Linked DNA regions of Homo sapiens: region 1 is linked to region 2. Evidence: promoter capture Hi-C in 16 types of primary human blood cells and fetal thymus (Javierre and others, 2016). All regions are on one chromosome and are shown on one strand. The core of a region is centred on a gene start or on the middle of the fragment in contact, and the rest is flanking DNA. Distances in the headings are between cores, read along the strand shown. Region 1 holds the start of CSNK2A2 (casein kinase 2 alpha 2). Region 2 holds the start of SPMIP8 (sperm microtubule inner protein 8).

Region 1 (5,378 bases), core at 1,773-4,272, 220 kb after region 2:
TTGCTTATTTCTTAGATTTGAAGCAGCTTATTGAAAACTTATGCTTATGTACATAAAGCTAATGTATGGCTTTCTAAGGTAATTTTCCTGTGACTTAAAAAAAAAAAAAACCACCTTGTGACTTCATAAATGCAATTCATATTTAGGGAAGAGAGGAGTCACACTCAGTATCTTCAACATCAGTTCCTCACTTCTCAGCCCCAGTGTGTCTGAGAACACAAATAACTTTGCTTTTTCTCTTTACTGCAATTCTGCTCCTTTATCACTAGGCTAGGATGTTTTGAGTGATGGAGTTAATCATTTTTTCTGAAAGATGATTACCAGAAAGCATAAGCCTGACCCCTCACATTAAACAGGGATTACCTATACCAGCTGCCCTAGCACACAGAAACAGCTTTTCTATACCACAGCTTTTCTAGTCCACAGAACCTCTGCAAAAGGGCCACAATGGAAATCACATGTATGCAAAGTGCTTACATCACTCTTCGGTCTTCTCAATCTCTCACTAAATGACTTGTATCCACATGAAATGATCCGGCAATAACGAGGACCCATCACAGATTCTAAGAACTACTTTTTACTATACCCTATAAAACATTATTAAAGCTACACAATCAGTTACCAGAAGGAAAATTTAGCCGACCCTTCATGCTAATTAAAATCATCTTCATCAAAGAGATAACGTCATATCATTATCAAATTCATTGCTAAACCATATATTAAGATAGTTTTGTTCCAATTATTACTTTAGTAATTATACATGAACTCTTCTATATTTTTACTAGCTTATAAGCAACAATGGCTCTCTGGCTTCCCAACAAGGCTTCTCAGCACTACTGGTGCACTGTATCCATACCACCTGAAACTTTACTGCCAAAGGAAAAAAACAAGTGATTATCCGCTAAGGAATTTCCTTCCACTTGGGCTTGAAATACATTTCTGAAGTCGCTCCAATTTTTTCCAACTTTCTTTCTGGAATAACATACAGCATGCACCAAGAGTAACAAACACAGTGCTCAGGGAGCCCTTAAATTGAGAGTGGCTTTTCTGTCTTTTGATTACCTATTTATTTTCTAACAAACGGAGCCCTTTTGGAATTTTTGCTTTAGGGAATTTACATTTTAGAACAAACACTTTACTGAACTTAGATTTGTGATGTCTGCACATTTTCTTGAAAGTTCATGGGAAAATGGGGTGGAAAAAGAAGTAATGAAGGGACATCAGATAAATAAAATTTGAGCGTCGGCTGGGCACAGTGGCTCACGCCTCTAATCCCAGCAACTATAGGAGGCCTGCAAGGAGTCCTTTTGGAGGACTGCTTGAGCTCAGGAGCTTAAGACCAGCCTGGGCAACATGACCAGACCCTGACTCTACAAAAAAATTTTAAAAATAGCTGGGCGTGGTGGCATGCACCTGTAGTCCCAGCTACTTGGGAGGCTGAGATGGATCACTGGAGCCCAGGAGTTGAAGGCTGCAGTGAACTATGATCTGCACTCCAGCCTGGGTGACAGAGTGAGACTCTGACTCTAAACAAATAAATTAAATTAAATTCAAGCTTGCATTGCCCATTATAGAATGTGACTGGGGTACCTTACAAACTTTTGCCCTGTGGGGAGGAAAATGTTACATACCACTCATAGGACACTCACCTTCAGGATTTTTACAACCACTCTCTCATTGTTGGTGATATTAATGGCCTCAAATACTTCACTATATTTTCCCCGACCAAGTTTTCGAACCAGTTGGTAATCATCTTGATTACTGTAAAAGGAAGACACACACATAAATGCCAGGACTGGGGGTTAACCAAGCCTATGCCCACTGTACACGTCATTCAGCCGCTTCCACCAGGCAAACACTTGGAAGTGTCTATACATCACGTCACAACTCATTCCCTAAATGAAAGCCACGACATAATCTTGGCTCCCTTCACTCTGCAGAGCTCCTAACCTAATTGGTCTCTCCTAACTTGGGAAGATGGGGCAGGAAGGCAACGCTCTGAGCCAATCCAGAGGGGCGAGCAAAGCACCCGTCCTGAAGGCCTAGAGGGTGCCCCCTGTGCCCCGCGGCTCCCCAGCACCTGCTTCTCGTTTCACATCTTCAAGGTAGACAATGCCTGTTTTAAAAATCTGGACGTCTTTAAGAAATTTCCTCCCACCACCTCATCTCAGAAAACCTAAAAGGCAGGGCATTTTAATAGCTCCAAAGGACAGCTGTTGACTTCCCACCCCAGTGGAAACCCAGAAGTGTGAGGAAGGGCAGCTCCCTCACTTCCACCCGGCGTCGATCCCTGGACCCCACACTTCTCCCCGAGTAAAAAAGCATTCCTTGGGGGAAAGGGGTGCGCAAAGCGGGGAGAAAGGGACGAAACGGGGGTAAAGGGGAGGGAAGAGGAAGACGAGGACATGTGCGAGAGCGGGACCTCTGCCTCCCTGCGGGCCCGCGGAGGGGTCGGCGGGAGACACCACCGGGCCCGAGTGCGGTTCGCAGGGGGTGGCCGGGCGGGGGCAGGGATCAGCGGGCCCGGCGGGGGGCGGCGACGGCTTTACCCCCAGCTCGGGACGTGAGCCTCGTAGTCCCAGTACTCGCGGCTCCTCAGACTGTTCACCTCGGCGTAGACCCGGGCCCTGCTGCCCGCGGCCGGGCCGGGCATGGCGGGCGGGACCGGGGGGCGGCGCGGGGCGCAGAGGGTGGCGGCGGCGGCGCGGCGGGGGACGCGGGGCGTCGGGCGGAGGAGGCAGCGGGCCGCCGGGCGCTGGAGGAGGAGGAGGAGGAGCGCGGCGGCGGGCGGCCGCGCCAGGCCGGGCCCGCGGGGGCGGGCGGGCTGGGGGCGCGGGGGGCGCCGGCCGAGCCGGCCCGGCCCTGGAGCGGCCGGCGGGGCGGCGGGGCGGGCGGCGCTCGCGCTCCGCGGCGGTCTCCGCTCGGCTCGCGGCCCCCAGGAGGCGGCGGCGGCGGCACCGGCAGCGGCAGCCACCGGCCGGGAAAGGGGCAGCGGCGGCGGCAGCGGAGAAGAAGGAGGAGAGGAGGAGGAGGCGGAGGAAACCCGGAAAAGGGGCCGCGCTCACTGGGAGCGGCCGCCGCCCGGCCTGGGGCCGCCCAGGCTCACAGCGCCCCCTGGAGCGCGGGGGGACCCGCCGGGCGGTGCCGGCCCCGCCCCGGCCCCGCCCCGGCACGCCCCGCCGCCTACCTCGCGCCCTCCGCCACCCTCGCCCTCCCGCCGCCACAGGTCGGACTGTCCAAATCGCCTCACCCTCGGGCTGGCTTGACTTCACGCCACAGGAGCCCCCCCTTCCACTGGCCGTTGCCCTAGAGCCCTCGCCCGCGACTCCCGACCCTTTCACTGTCCTTGGAGACCCTATCCCCAGCCCTGCACTCACCCAGCTTTTACCCACCCAACACATCCCATACTGACCCTATTCTGACCCTCCTGTCACCCAAACTGTCAAGTCCCTCCCCAGGGCCTCACTCAAACCTCAGAACCTCCCCCACCTCAATACTTCTCCCTTCCCCCGAGACATACCCCTCCTTCCCCCTCTGGACCCTGCCCTGTTAGGGTAGACTCCTCAGTCCCCAAGGCTTCCTACCCCCGTCATTCAGAGTGCTCCTCACAAAACCTTTCTACACTTCCCCCAAATGCCCTTCCAGAGCCTTCCCTGAATATCCACTTTGGTCACTTGGTTAAGCTGGCATTGACCAGGTTGTGCCACTGCAAAGTTACAATTTTTCCCTTTGTGATTAATAAGTCATTTGTGGGGAGAGACTTTGAGAGTGTAAATCTCCTGTTTGTGTTTAGGAGGAGGGAGAGCAGGAGAATTGCAAATCCGACCTGAAGGGACAGGCTGGGTTGGGGATGTGCCCAGAGTAGGTGGTCAACTGAGCTGGCCTGGCTTCCAGTGCTGCCTGCAGCCTTGAACACCCTTCTCCTTTGATCTTCTAGGCCTTTCTTCTGTCTTCCTTTCCCATCCCTCATCCTTTATCGACAGCACCTCTGCACCCAGTACAGGTTGCTTTCATTCCAGTCCCTTTTCACATTCTGTTTTCTGGATGAAACCCTGGGCCTTCCTGCTTGACACAGCTAAGAGCACAGTCTGTGGAGTCAGATCTATCCAGCACTGCTACTTAGAAGCTGTGTGACCTTAGGGCAATTACTCAACCTCTCTGTGTCACAGATTCTACAGCATAAAACCAGTAATAACGCTCACTTCACAGGGCTGCAAGGAGAATTAAACAAGGTAAACCATGTGAAACACTTAGGATGGTGTTCACTATTAGGATAGCATGTGTTCAATATGATTATTTCCAGGCCTAGGGCCTTTCTCTGCTCATTCCTCCCTCCCTGAGACCACCGTGCATCCGTCTTTTGGTTCCTTCTATCCTCCAAGCTTAACTAGGAGCCACCCCCAACCCCTCCACCCCACCTTCCCAAGGGTGTCTCCTTTTTCCTATTCAAATTTCACCTTTTTCTTTATTAGTAGTATTTTTTTAGAAATAGGGTGTCTCTATATTGCCCAGGCTGGAGTGCAGTGGCTATTCACAGGCATGATCCCACTACTGATCCGAACAGGAGTTTTGACCTGCTGTTTGCCACCTGGCAACCTGGTGGTCCTCCAGCCCCAGGAGGTCATCATAGTTGATGCCAAACTTAGTGTGGACACCTGATTGGCATTGCACACTACAGCCCAGAACTCCTGGGCTCAAACGATCTTCCCACCCCAGCCTCCTGAGGAGTTGGGACTACAGGCATGCCTCCAGCTCAAGTCTCAGCTTAAAGATCACTTTCTCTAGAGTTGATACTTCTCTATCTCAGCACCCTATCCACGTCCTTCATCAAACTGCATATCTTGTCATTATTTGTTTCCTGGGTTATTGTCTGTCCCCTCCTTTGTAAAAACAGCACAAGAGCAAGGACAGAGTGTGGGCGCTCACCACTGACTCTCCCAGCATTTGCCACAGTCAGAGACCTTCAGTAAATACAGTGCTACCCCACAGATGACTTAGGAATTACCAAGGGGAAACGAGGTCACCACCTTACCCATGGTCCAAACTTCTCATCAGTAGGGAACCAACTGATCCTCTGATGTGATGCACTGAGAAGGGACACCTCCCCCATGTGGTCCTCCTGCCAAAACATTTAACCTGAATCTAATGATAAGGACACCATCAGACAAATCCAAGCTGGGCGACATTCTGCCAAACAGCTAGCCTGAGTTCTTCAAAAAGTCAATGTCACTAGGAGAAAGAAAACCAAACGAAACCCTAGATTCGTATTCTTGTTACTGAAGACTTAGAGACATAATTAGATGAAGTGTATGATTCTGAATTAGAGTCTGGATTTTTTTTTAAAGTAGAAAGGAAAGGAGGGAAAGAGAAAGAATACA
Region 2 (5,711 bases), core at 2,623-5,122:
AAAGTTCTTTCTGCCAGCAAGGCCAGACCCCAACGGTAAAGCTCAATGTACTCCCTGACCCTTCCCTACAAATATGCCAGGCTGCAGGGGTCAGAGCTCCTCCCCAAGGAACAGCAGCAAGCCCTTCTGCTCTGCTTGGGCCTGAGACTAACACAGGTGACATTCGCCCTTGCCTGCAGCCTGACGGGAGGGATGATGGGGCTTGGACTATGCTGGTGGGAGTACAGATAGAAGGGAAAGGGGAGGAAAAAGGCGGGCATTGAGGGGCTCACCCTGGGAAACTGGGTAGCTGGTTTAGTGGGTGAACCAGTAAACCGCCCCAGGCTGGTTTACACATGTACTGAAAAGAAGAAGCCTGAGGCTGGAAGTTTGGAGGAAGAATTTTGGAGGGAAAATCATGAGCACTACTTTGTTAAGATGTCTGAGAGAGGCTGGGTGCAGTGGCTCACGCCTGTAATCCTAGCACTTTGGGAGGCCAAAGCAGGTGGATCACCTGAGGTCAGGAGTTCAAGACCAGCCTGGCCAACATGGCAAAACTCCGTCTCTACTAAAAATACAAAAATTAGTCGGGTGTGGTGGCAGGTGCCTATAATCCCAGCTGCTCTGGAGGCTGAGGCAGGAGAATTGCCTGAACCCGGTGGGTGGATGTTGCAGTGAGCCAAGATCACACCACTGCACTCCAGCCTAAGCAAAAAAAAAAAAAAGTCTGAGAGACATCCAGGTTGAAATGTGTGTGTGTGTGTGTGTGTGTGTGTGTGTGTGTGTGAGACTTAGGGAGAGGTCTACAGGAGATAGAAATTTTGGAGGCCTCAGCTTGCAGATGATGCTTAAAGCCACAGGACTGACTGATATCACCTCGGAAACCCAAGGAAACAAAGATGACCAGAGGTGGCACCTGGAACACGGGCTCACTCAGAGGATGCAAAAAGAGCAGGAGCTGGTAAAGGAGCCTGAAGGAGCTGCCAGGGATGGGGATGGAGAAGCAGAAGCATGGGGTGAGGTGAAAGCCAAGAGTAGTGGCTGTGTTGGGGTGAGGGAATGATCCAAGGGGCCACTGTCTGAGCTGAGACTTGAAATGCGTCCTGAGATTGGGCAACTTAGAGGCAGTTGGAGCCCCTGCAGAGTGGGAAGGAGGGAAAATTAGATGAGCCTGAGGGAACAGTAGTGGGCTCTAGGGTGGGGAAAATGAGCAAAACACAGCCACACACAGTGGCTAAAGTTTGGATGAAACTCATGTGCATATATATGGAGAGAAAGAAGCCAGATTCAAAAGAAGACCCCAGTGATCCATGCATACAAAATTCCCAAAAGGCAAAATTAGTCTGTCCTGTCTATGGCTACAAACACAAGTACATTTGCCACCTCTAGTTTTCTATAAAGCCTAGAGTTGTTAAATAAAGTTTTCCATAGTTGCCCATAAATAAAAGCACAGGTTGTACTACAAGATGGGAGAGTGGTTCCTTCTTGCTGGGTTGGGGGTTGTAATTGGGAAGGTGTATGTGGAAGCTTCTAGGGACTGGCAGGGCCAATGTCTTGCTTTCTTTTACTAACTTGGCTGGCATCTATTTTTCAAAACAAGCTTATGGGAATATATATGCCATAAAATTCACCCATGGTAAGTATACAACTCAATGACTTTTATATTACTTATTATTTATTTATTTATTTAAGACAGGGTGTCACTCTATCACCCAGGCTGGAGTGCAGTGGCGTGATCATAGCTCACCGCAGCCTCGACCTTCTGAGCTGAAGTGATTATCCCACCTCAGCCTCCCAAGTAGCTGTGACCACAGGCACATGCCACCATGCCCATTTAATTTTCATATTTTTTGTAGAGACAGGGTTTCGCCATGTTTCCCAGGCTGGTCTCGAACTCCCGGGCTCAAGCAATCCACCCACTCGGGGTTCCCAAAGGGCTGGAATTACAGGCGTGAGCCACCGCCCCGGCCTAACTCATGATTTTTAACACATTGACTGAACTGTGCAACTCTTGCCACATCTGGTTTTAGAACATTCCCGTTGCCCCAGTAAGACCCCTCACACCAGATGATAACCACTCTTCATTCGTACACCCCAGTCCCAGGCAACCACACATCTGCTTTCTGCGTCTATAGATTTGTCTTTCCTGGACATTTTATATAAATGGGTCATACAATATGTGAGTTTTCACATCTGGCTTCTTTGATGTAGCGTAATGTTTTATGAGGTTCATCCACCTCGTAGCTTGTATCAGAACTTCATTTCTTTTCATTGCCCAAGAGTATTGCATGGTATAGACGCACCACAGTTTATCCACTCATCAGTGGACACAGGTTGTTTCCACTTTTTGGCGATACATCATGTTGCTATGAACATTTGTGTGCAAGTCTTTGTGAAGATATATACTTTTTTTTTTTTGAGACGAAGTCTTGCTCTTGCCGCCCAGACTGGAGTGCGATGCTGCGATCTCGGCTCACTGCAACCTCCGCCTCCCAGGTTCAAGCGATTCTCCTGCCTCAGCGTCCTGAGTAGCTGGGATTACAGGCTTGCACCACCACGCCCAGCTAATTTTTGTGTTTTCAGTAGAGACAGGTTTTCACCATGTTGGCCAGGCTGGTCTCAAACTCCCAACCTCAAGTGATCTGCTCACCTCAGCCTCCCAAAGTGCTGGGATTACAGGTGTGAGCCATCGTGCCTCACAATATACTTTCATTTCTCTTGGGAAGCCTCCTGGGGTAGAATCTTCCAGATGACCCAATCATATGGTACATTTCTGTTTCATTTTTTAAGAAACTGATAAACTGTTTTAAAAGTAGTACTCCATGTCTTGACCAGGGTGGGTGGTAGTTATACGGGGTCTCATTTTGTAAATTATTAGTTACATTAGATATTTATTCACTTTCTGTATTTCTTCTATTTTATAACTTTAAAAGAGTCAAGAAATAAATTGGGGGTGGGGTGGTGAGTGGAGTCAACTCTGGGAAGGTTTTTTGTAAGGGGTAGCAGTTAGGAATGCTGTTCTGGAAGCTGTATGGAGCACTGGAGGAGGAGCAACTGGGGAAACAAATCCTACAAGAATTTCACAGGAGGGGCTCCAAGACCCATCAGGTTCAGCCCCTGGGCAGGTATATGCAAAAGCACATGCCAATATATGCAAATAAGTTAGGATCTCCTGGGGTTTCCTCACCTTGGGGGTCTGTCTCTAATGGTTGTGACCAGGATGGTGGGCAGGCCCCAGGGCTTTGGGGTGCTGGCCTTGGGCACTCACAGCCTGGCTTTTCTGGGAGCCTGCAGTCCTGCAGGGGCTGAGGGTGGAGTATCATCTGCTAATCCCTGGCCTGCTGAGTCCACCACTCTCCCTGATCCCCTCACGCTTACCCTGGATACTGGCCACAGCTAATCTCCACTCCTGGAGACTCAAGGGCTGGCAGACAGTGCAGTGCCCTCTTCCCTGAGGGTTCCAGGGAGGGGAGATCCCTCTCAGCATCCAGATCCTCCTAACGGCAGATCCTAGAGTCCTTGCCTAACACAGAGGAGAGCCTTGAGTCCCAGAGAGAGGCGGTAATTAGCCCAGGATTACACAGCCTGCAGTGGGCTCAGTAGCCATTTCTGGCCTGCCTTGGCCTGACTACCTCCAGGGAACCCCAGCTCCCCATCTGACATTTCCCAAGATGCCTGGCCTGTGCTAAGGCCTGGGAGACCACAGCCTTCAGGAAGGCTGGAAGGGAGTGGCCAGAGCACAGGAATTCTGGCACAGGCTCTTGTTAGAGCCTGTAGTTGCCAGGGTTGCTAAGGAGTGGGTGCCTCAGAATCAGGCTGCAATGGGCATTGTCTGTGCACAATGTTCCTTTATTCTGCTGCTGTCCATAATAAGGGCTCGTCCACCTCCCTTCCTCTTCTGCCCATTGAGCAGTCAAAGAACTGAAAGTCCTTATAAGCCTGTGCACCTGGGCCTGGGCCCTACAGATAAGGTAGCTGCTATTGGTGAGTCAGAAGCAGGGAGCCCTTGCTCTCTTCCCCATATCCGTGATCCCCCTCCCTGTCCCTCCCCAGGCAGTCACATCCCCTAAGGCAGCTTCCCCATGCCTTGTCACCATGCCCCCTCCCTGCTCCTCCATGATCTAAGGTCCTCTCTCCTCCTGCCACCCTAGCTTCCACCTCCACCTCTCACCTCTAACTCAGGGTCAGGAAGAAAGCAAGCTGTCTCAACAAATTCTCACTAAAGTGTAAATGACTGAAAGGCTCCTGGGACTATCTGCTTTTTAAAGGGAGGCACTGGGTATCCAGTAATGCTTTTCTAGTTTAAATATATCATGTTGCTCCCCTTCCTGAAAATCTTTCTGAGTCAATCTGTAGAATTTTGGGTAAATAGCTAGGGCAAGTCCATAATTATTCACCCAGAGGTATACGGCATACTAAGCTACATTCTGAACCCGCTTGCTGCTGCACTTTCCTGCTTATTATTTAAGAATAGACTCGCCAGGCAAGGTGGCTCACACCTGTAATCCCAGCACTTTGAGAGGCTGAGGCGGGTGGATCACTTGAGGTCAGGAGTTCGAGACCAGCCTGGCCAACACAGTGAAACCCCGTCTCTACTAAAAATACAAAAACTAGTCACATGTGGTGGTGGATGCCTATAATCCCAGTTCCTCAGGAGGCTGAGGCAGGAGAATCACTTGAACCCAGGAGACAGAGGTTGCATTGAGCCAAGATGGCGCCACTGTACTTCAGTCTGAGCAGAAGAGTGAGACTGTCTCAAAAAAAAAAAAAAAAAGAAAAGAAAGAAAGAAAAAAAAACGAATAGACTCAAATACCACCTCTTTTAGACCATTCCTTGAATGTCCTAACCCCAGCCTCCCCAGAAACACACACTCTGTACTGACCTCCCTCACAGCCATGGCACAATGTGAGTGTGTGTGTGTGTGTGTGTGTGTGTATGTGTGTGTTGGAAGGGGAGTGGGAGGGTTGTCTCTGTTATCTTCTGTTATCTGAATGTTCCTGCCACCTCATGCTGAGCTCCAGAAAAATGGCCTGGCACACAGTAGGTGCTAAATAAATGTTTGGCAAGTAGACATCGGCACTGGCCAAGGTTGTTTTCATGCAGAGAAGGGTGTCTGGCCAGCATGAGCCCAGGGTGAGCCCCTTAGAACCCTCTGCCCCCCAGCTATGGCCCGCATCATTGACCTGGTGCCCTGGGACGATGGCTCCACACATGTGTATGCCTCCCCGGCCATCCTGCTTCCCATGGAGCGGCAGCGCAACCAGCTGGCGGGCGTGAAGCAGCAGCTCTACCACCCAGCCCTGCCCACCCTGCGCCACATGGACAGGGACACCGTCAAGGCCTGCCTTCCTGATGAGCACTGCCAGTCCACCACCTACTGCCGCAAAGGTTAGGACACCAGTGTAGGATCCCCTTTGGGGAAGGGGCAGATGGTTTCAGGAAAGAGGGAGACAGATGCAAGGATGAAAGAGGCCAGTCCCAGCTCTGCTGCTCCCTGCCCAGGACACTTTGGCCAGGTCTGAGCCTCTGTTTACTGCTCAGTACAATGAGGATAATTGACAAGGCCTACCTCAAAGTGTTGTTGTGGGGTTAGAAGGAGATAAGGCACAAAAAACACTTAGAGGCTGGGCGCAGTCCCAGCACTTTGGGAGGCCAAGGCAGGCTGATAACCTGAGGTCAGGAGTTTGAGACCAGCCTGGTCAACATGGTGAAACCCCATCTCTACTAAAAA

The links. The method cuts DNA at HindIII sites, captures the fragments that hold promoters and counts their contacts. A CHiCAGO score of 5 or more calls a contact.
Region 1: the fragment with the promoter of CSNK2A2 here is called in contact with the fragment with the promoter of SPMIP8 in region 2 in 17 of 17 cell types (total B cells, fetal thymus, non-activated CD4 T cells and 14 more); the score reaches 27.6 in total B cells.

What each region holds. Positions count from the first base shown.
Region 1 is chr16:58,195,084-58,200,461 of GRCh38, forward strand. It overlaps CSNK2A2 (casein kinase 2 alpha 2), which reads right to left and starts at 3,023. Exons shown (of 12, transcript NM_001896.4): 1 at 2,550-3,023; 2 at 1,650-1,761. The coding sequence starts at 2,653. It also overlaps the pseudogene RN7SL645P. RefSeq lists silencers at 2,457-2,526, 2,927-3,196, 3,247-3,376. The HindIII fragment of the contact is 2,827 bases long and covers 1,554-4,380 here.
Region 2 is chr16:57,972,672-57,978,382 of GRCh38, forward strand. SPMIP8 (sperm microtubule inner protein 8) reads left to right here and starts at 3,873. Exons shown (of 8, transcript NM_199456.3): 1 at 3,873-3,963; 2 at 5,144-5,368. The coding sequence starts at 5,146. The HindIII fragment of the contact is 9,202 bases long and covers 1,578-5,711 here.